2 separate regions of the Homo sapiens genome follow, and region 1 is linked to region 2. Evidence: promoter capture Hi-C in 16 types of primary human blood cells and fetal thymus (Javierre and others, 2016). All regions are on one chromosome and are shown on one strand. Each heading gives the region's core, a stretch centred on a gene start or on the middle of the fragment in contact. The rest is flanking DNA. Distances are from core to core; before and after follow the strand shown. Region 1 overlaps CAMTA1 (calmodulin binding transcription activator 1). Region 2 holds the start of DNAJC11 (DnaJ heat shock protein family (Hsp40) member C11).

Region 1 (3,508 bases), core at 931-3,430, 180 kb after region 2:
TAGCTCATGGCAACCTCCACCTCCAGGGCTCAAGCAGTCCTCCCACCTCAGCCTCCTGAGTAACTGGGACCACAGGGGCATGCCACCATGCCCAGCTAACTTTTTGTGTTTTTGTAGAGACAGGGTTTCACTGTATTGTCCAGGCTGGTCTCAAACTCTGGAGCTCAAGTGATCCGCCCGCCTTGGCCTCCCAGAGTGCTGGGATTACAGGCCTGAGCCATTATGTCCGGCCTCTAACAGATTTTAAGGAAGCTTTTGTTCTGTCTGATATCTGTATGATCATGGGAGGGGAGTGGAGTGTTCTGCCCACCCCAGAGTGACTTAAATTCAAATATTTGTTTGTTCAATAAATACTTATTGAATACCGAGTACTAGGCACTGTCCTAGGTGTATCTAGAATGAAGCAATAAACAAAACCATGTTATTCCCCTCGAAGAGCTTATTTTCTGGTTGGGGGAGAGGAATAATAATAAACAATAAACAAAAACAAAAATAAATAACAGTAATTGCGTGCTTATATATGCCAATTACATTTATTAACTCACTCTTCAGAATACTGAGGAAGTAGCTGCTGTCATTATCCCCATTTCATAGACAAGGAAACCGAGATACAGAGAAGTTGAATTAACTTGCTCAGTGTCACATAGCTAGTAAGTGGTGCTGTTGCATTCCTGTCCAGGTCATTGGACTCCAGATTTCATGCCCTTAATCACTGTGGTATTTTGTTTCTCTTTTAAAAAACTGCCCAATCTGTTTATTTCTAAAGAAGGAAAGAAATGTCAGTGATAGTGTGGTGAACAGTGCAGCAAGGTACACAGTGAGAGGGTTCTTGCATGTCTGTTTGTGCATGCTATTCTAGTGTGACTGAGCGGGTATCTCTCATGAGGTGAATTGAAGGAAGCAACACTGTGACCACTTGAAGGAAGCAACACCGTGACCACGTAGGTGTCTAGAGTGAGTATTCCAAGCAGAGGGAACTGCAAAAGCAAAGGCGCTGAGATAGACAGAGATAGATTTGGCAATGGCGAGAGAGAAGCCAGGAGAATGACAAGGAGGCCTGTGTTGCTGTGCAGAGCGTGGGAAGGGGCACGGGAGGGGAGGAGCCAGGAAGTAGTGTCCTGTGCAGCCCCGCAGGGCTTGGCACGGTCTTTTGGTTTTGCCGAAAGAGAAGGAAAGCCACCTGAGGATTTTTGAGCAGGAAAAAGACATGACAGAAAGGATCATTCTGGGCTGGGCATGATGGCTCACGTCTGTAACCCCAGCACTTCGGGAGGCCAGTGTGGGCGGATCTTGAGGTCAGGAGTTCAAGACCAGCCTGGCCAACATAATGAAACCCTGTCACTACTAAAAATACGAAAAATTAACTGGGCATGGTGGCGGTTGCCTGTAATCTCAGCTATACGGGAGGCTGAGGCAGGAGAATTGCTTGAATCTGGGAGGCAGAGGTTGCAGTGAGTGGAGATCGCACCACTGCACTCCAGCCTGGGAGACAGTGTGAGACTCTGTCTCAAAAAAATAAAAGTAAAATAAAATAAAATAATCACTCTGAATGTAGTGCAGAGAATCTTCCAGGGCAGGGCCAGCAGACCACAGCCCATGGCAGGTTCTGGCCCACTGCCTGTTTCTATATAGCTAGCAAGCTAAGAATGCTTTGTATGTTTTTAAGTGGTTGAAAAAAAATCAGTATTTTATTTCACATGAAAATTATATGAAATTCAAATTTCAGTGTCCAGTTCCAGTTCTATTGAAACAGAGCCACACTCTTGTGTGTATTATCTGAGGCCGCTTTTGAGCTGCAACAGCCAAGCTAAGTAGTTGTAACAGGGAGCATATGGCCTGTAGAGGCTGAAAGATCTATACTGTTTGGCCCTTTACAGAAAAGAGTTGTTGATCCCTGGTTTGGGATAGAAGTAGGGAGACCAGTGAGGAGACTGTTGCAAGAACTGATGGTGCCTTGGACAGAGCAGGAAGAAATGGTCATATATGGGTTATGTTTGAAAGGAAGAGCTGGTAGACTGTATTAATATAGGAAGAGTCAGGGATGATGACTGTGTTTTTGCACTGAGTAACTGGAAGAATGCTATTCTTCTTTACTGAGATCAGGAAGACTGAGAACAGCAGGTTGGGGAGGAGGGGTGAAGAGAATGTAGGTTGTGTTTTGCACCTGTTGACTGTAAGATCAGGTGGAGATGTTCAATAGGCAGTCGTATGTTTGAGTTTGTAACTTCAAGGAGAGGCTGAGGCTGGAGCTAGATTTTGAGTGTTTTCAGCATATAGGGGGTTCTAAAAGCCGTAGGACTGGATGAAATTTTTTAGGGAGTGTATACAATAGAGAAGTCCAGACATGGAGCCCTGGGACACCCAATGTTAAGGGGAAGCGGGTAGAAGGGAGGCAAAGGAGAATGAGAAGCAATCAGAGAAGGAAGACAGGAGATGGGGGTGTCCTGGAAGTGCATGTTTCTCTTTGCTTTGCTTTGCTTTTTTGAGACAGAATGTCCCTCTGGTCTCAGCTCACTGCCATTTCCACTTCCCGGGTTCAAGTGATTCTCTTGCCTCAGCCTCCCAAGCTGGGATTACAGGTGTGTGCCACCATGCCTGGCCAATTTTTTTATTTTTAGTAGAGATGGGGTTTTGCTGGGTTGGCCAGGCTGGTCTCGATCCCCTGACTTCAAGTGATCCACATGCCTTGGCCTCCCAAAATGCTGGGATTACAGGTGTGAGCCACCGCGCCCGGACAAGGAAGCTCATGTTTCAAAGCAGAGTGATATCTATGTCAGATGCTGCTAAAGCTGGAGCAAGAAACAGACGGGTTTCACTGTGGGCTTGGTAGCGGGGCGATCGTTGGTGACTTTGATAAGAGCTGTATGAGTGAAATGGTGAGAATAAAAGCCCAGTTCCAGGTGGTTCAAGCAAAAACGACTGGATAGGGAGCTGAGCTGGTGCTCTGAAGGAATTCTGCTTTCGGCAGCCTAAGTGTAGGGCAGGAGAGGGCAGGAGAGGGCAGGGAGTTGGATTTAACCTGGGATTAGGATTTTGCCAGGTGAGTACAGTGGAGGGAGGAGGCATAAGGGAGTTGAGCATTGCGCAGAAGAATCGATGTGAGGATTGAGGATAGACCATGTGGTCTAAGCCAGGCAAGGAGCCAGGAGGCATGAAGGAGCTGAGGGTCAGTAAGAGGTCATGGGGTCAGTGGATTCAAGGAATAGGATCGAGGAGTTGTTGGAGTTGGGATAGTCGAAGAGTAGATAGAGGGCTTGAAATCGGTATCATGGAGGGGTCAGTTTTGGTTACATCAAGGTCAGGGGCTCTGCTGTACAGTAGCAGTGTCAGTGAGTCACGTGTAATTTTTAATGTTCTAGTAACCATATTTTTAATAGGTAAAAATAAAGGAAACTAATTTTAATAATATATTGTAATATATTTTATTTTACCCAGTAAGTCTACATTACATGACCATGTAGTAAGTATAAAAATTGAGAAGTTACTTATTTTGGTATGAAGTCTTTGA
Region 2 (3,580 bases), core at 485-2,984:
CCTGCCCCACCCTAACTGGTCAATTGGCCTTATGACAATACACGCTCCCCGCCCTTGTGATAATGTACTTTGTGATATTCCGCCCTTAAGAAGGTACTTTGTAATATTCTCCCCACTCTTGAGAATGTACTTTGTGAGATCCACCCCCTGCCCACAAAAAATTGCTCCTAACTCCACCGCCTATCCCAAACCTATAAGAACTAATGATAATCCCACCACCCTTTGCTGACTCTCTTTTCGGACTCAGCCCATACGCACCCAGGTGATTAAAAAGGTTTATTGCTCACACAAAGCCTGTTTGGTGGTCTCTTCACACGGACGCGCGTGACACTCAAGGATACAGTACCAGAACTAGCAGCTTTGTAGTCCAAGGACTGGTAAGGTAAGGTGACAGACTAGCATGGAGCTCACAAGCTGGGCTCCAGAGTCAGACTGCCTGGGTTGAGTTCAGGCTCTTGCACTTTCTAGTAGTGTGACTTTAGACACACTACTTAATCTCTCTATGCCTTGGTTTCCTCAAGTGTAAATCAAGGGCTATCATAATACTTACCTTAAGAGCTATCCTCAGAATTAAATGAGATAACAGTACAAAGTTCATTCAGCATAGTGGTCCCACACAAGATAAGTTTGTATTATTAACATCACATAGACTAATATTTACTGACAACACACACTGAACCCGCTTTGGTTAGCATAGCCAAACTTGGCTAGCTTTCATTACCACTGGAAAACCTGAGAGATGGAATTAGGAATTCTCTGGCAGGGCTGAAAAGTCTGGACCCATCGGCTTAAAGAAACTGATCCACCTCATGACCTGACCCTGGAAGCCTTCTCGCCCTTCACACCTATCTCAACTCCAGACTAGTCAAGAACAAAGGAGTGTAGTGGGGCCCTACTACTGCCAGGCTATGTGAGACTCTCTCATGTTATCTTTTATTCGTTGAGGAGACAGGGTACAAGTGCTTGGTGTGAATGTTGAAGCTGTTGTTAGGGCACCACTTTTCTGGCCTAGGGCTTCTTCCTAATCTGCAGCCTCCGAGCCGAGGGTCTGTGTCCCGGAGGCTCTGCCTGCAATTTCTGGACATCGGGTCCAGGGGAATGAAAGAGGGCATGAGACGCATGCCTCTGAGGCTGGACCCACTTCAGAGGCAGAGCGTCCCCACGAAAGACTCGGGAACCGGAAAAAGCCCTAAGGACGTTCCCTAGTGGCCTTGACCTTGGTGGGTGAGACTCAGTTCGCCATCCTGCTGGCGGCGGGCGATGACACAGCCCCTCAGCCAGGACGAGTATGTGGGCTGAGCGCGAGACGGGGTCTCGGAGGACTGCTAACCCCACTACGGTGGCCTCCTCGGGGCCCCCGTTTCCTCTTGAGCGTGCGGGGGCCTCTGGCCCTACCCGGACACAGTGCACGCGGCGCACTGGCCTTCAGGAGCTGGGGCGGAGGCTGGCCCCGGAACCCCCGGCGGGAGGGTCTGGGCGGTGGGGACGCCTCCATCGGGCGGCTGGCGTGCACGTCGCCGGGGTCACGCGGCCTCCCCGACGGACCCGAGCCTCCCGTGGCGGGGGTGGGGCGGCCACCGCCAGCCCGGCCCTCCCGAACGACCGGGCTCGGCCTCAGCCCCCAGAGCGTCCAGCCGCTGGCCTCACCTCCCTGCGCACGTTCAGCAACGAGTAATAGTCTTCATTGTCCAGCTCCTCCTCGCTCAAGGCCGTCGCCATCTTCGCAACCTTTCACCCCGCCAAACCGGCAAGGCCGTGCTCAAGAGGGGCCAGTGATCCGCGTCAGGGACAGCGCGGGCCAGCCCGGCTGCGCCACAGCGGCCCCTGGCGGCCCGGAGCCGTCCGCGCCCGGCGGGAGTGCGCCTGCGCTTTGCGCCCCCGCGCGGCCTAGGGCGGGACGCGGCGCCTAGGCAGCCCTGGCGGGGTGACCACGCGGGTGTCTCTTCGTGCTCCCAATGGACGCGTGGCACGCGGCGTGGCTGCGTCCTCGGGGGCCTGAGATCCAGCCAGGACTCCCTAGGGCTTTTCCTGTACTAGAAAGGGAAACTTTGCTTTTTTTTTTTTTTTTTGAGACGGAGTCATACTCTGTCGCCCAGCCTGGTGTGTGTGCAGTGGCGCAATCCCGGCTCACTGAAGCCTCCACCTCCCGGGTTCAAGCGATTCTCCTGCCTCAGCCTCCCGAGTAGCTGGGACTCCAGGCGCGCGCCACCACGCCCAGTTAATTTTTTTGTATTTTTGGTAGAGACACGGTTTCACCATGTTGGCCAGGCTGGTCTGAGGCTCCTGAACTCAGGAGATCCTCGGCCTCCCAAAGTGCTGGGATTACAGGCATGAGCCACCGCGTCCTGCCTAGAAAGGGAAACTTTGAAGTCACCTCCAGGAGATTGTCATCCTCTGGGAGACAAACCCCTGTGATACCACCTGTTACCCCACTGGCCCCAAACTCCTGGAAGAAGCGCGAGGTGCCCCCAGTGCAGGGTGCATCCGGATCCTAGATATCCCCCAAATGACATTTGTTCCTACCTCCATTGTCTTTTCTCTTGGCCACCCAGAAGCCTTCCTGCCCAGAACAGGCCTCCTCATTTTAGTTATTTGTTATTGCTCTAATTTAGGAGCACCTGGCCATCTTTTCTGCTGCTTAAATGACAAAGCAATAACTATTTGGTTCCTGATATAATTGTCTCTGGCAGGCATGTGTACCTGCAGTCCCTACCCCAGAGCCATTCTCCTGTAAATTTCTCCCTTATAATTTATCGGTGGAGTCTAATTGATTTCAACCTGGTGCCTGCTGTTTGGTGCATTATTAAAGATGTCTTGGTTACAACAATCTAAATAATTTAAAGGTCTTCGAAATGACGCCATTGTCAAGGGAAGGTGGACAGCAGCCCACTCTTGCCACCTGTTTGGTTCCCGCTGACCTGCGCAAGTCTCAGAAACCTTTGTTGTTCCTTCACTAACCACCAGTCCATAGCCATCCCCGTTGCCCTTCATAAGCAGGTCTCCTGGGAAGCCCCGAACACCTGTCTGTGGATTTGAGAGGCTGATTTCTTTCTCTTTCTAATTTTTGGCCAGATGTGCACCATCTGGGCCTGTGTCTCATCCCTTCCAAGTTGCCCAGCCCTCTTAGGATCTTTTGGCATGAGACACTTCGGTGTGCTGAGACAGATTGTTCGGGTGGGTTGAGTCAGCCTGAAACAAACTGTCAGCCCAGGTTGTAAATTAAGGGCTATTTCTTTAGTTGTGTGAAGCTTCTCCACAACAGCTTCCATGGTCCATCAGCTCTTCCAGCAATGTTATGGGCTTTGCCTTTTTCTCCTTTGCAGAGAAAAGAGCTGTGGTTAGGGCCAAACTGCATGCTGACATTTGACAGTCTTTAAGAATTTCTTTCTTTTTTTTTTTTTTTGTTTGAGACAGAGTCTCACTCGGTCGCCCAGGCTGGAGTGCAGTGCCACGATCTTGGCTCACTGCAACCTCCGCCTCCCGGGTTCAAGCGATTCTCCTGCCTCAGCCTCCCAAGCAGCTGGGACTACAGGCGTGCGCCATCACGCCCAGCTAATTTTTGTATTTTTAGTAGAGACGG

What was found. The method cuts DNA at HindIII sites, captures the fragments that hold promoters and counts their contacts. A CHiCAGO score of 5 or more calls a contact.
Region 1: a contact is called between a fragment that was not itself captured here and the fragment with the promoter of DNAJC11 in region 2, in 1 of 17 cell types (monocytes). The highest score is 5.9, in monocytes.

The regions. Positions count from the first base shown.
Region 1 is chr1:6,880,458-6,883,965 of GRCh38, forward strand. All of the region lies in intron 3 of CAMTA1 (calmodulin binding transcription activator 1), which reads left to right. Among named protein-coding and RNA genes, the nearest start is that of CAMTA1, 97 kb to the left of the region's middle. The HindIII fragment of the contact is 3,861 bases long and covers 251-3,508 here.
Region 2 is chr1:6,700,082-6,703,661 of GRCh38, forward strand. DNAJC11 (DnaJ heat shock protein family (Hsp40) member C11) reads right to left here and starts at 1,735. Exons shown (of 16, transcript NM_018198.4): 1 at 1,648-1,735. The coding sequence starts at 1,719. RefSeq lists a silencer at 1,522-1,971. The HindIII fragment of the contact is 16,969 bases long and covers 1-3,246 here.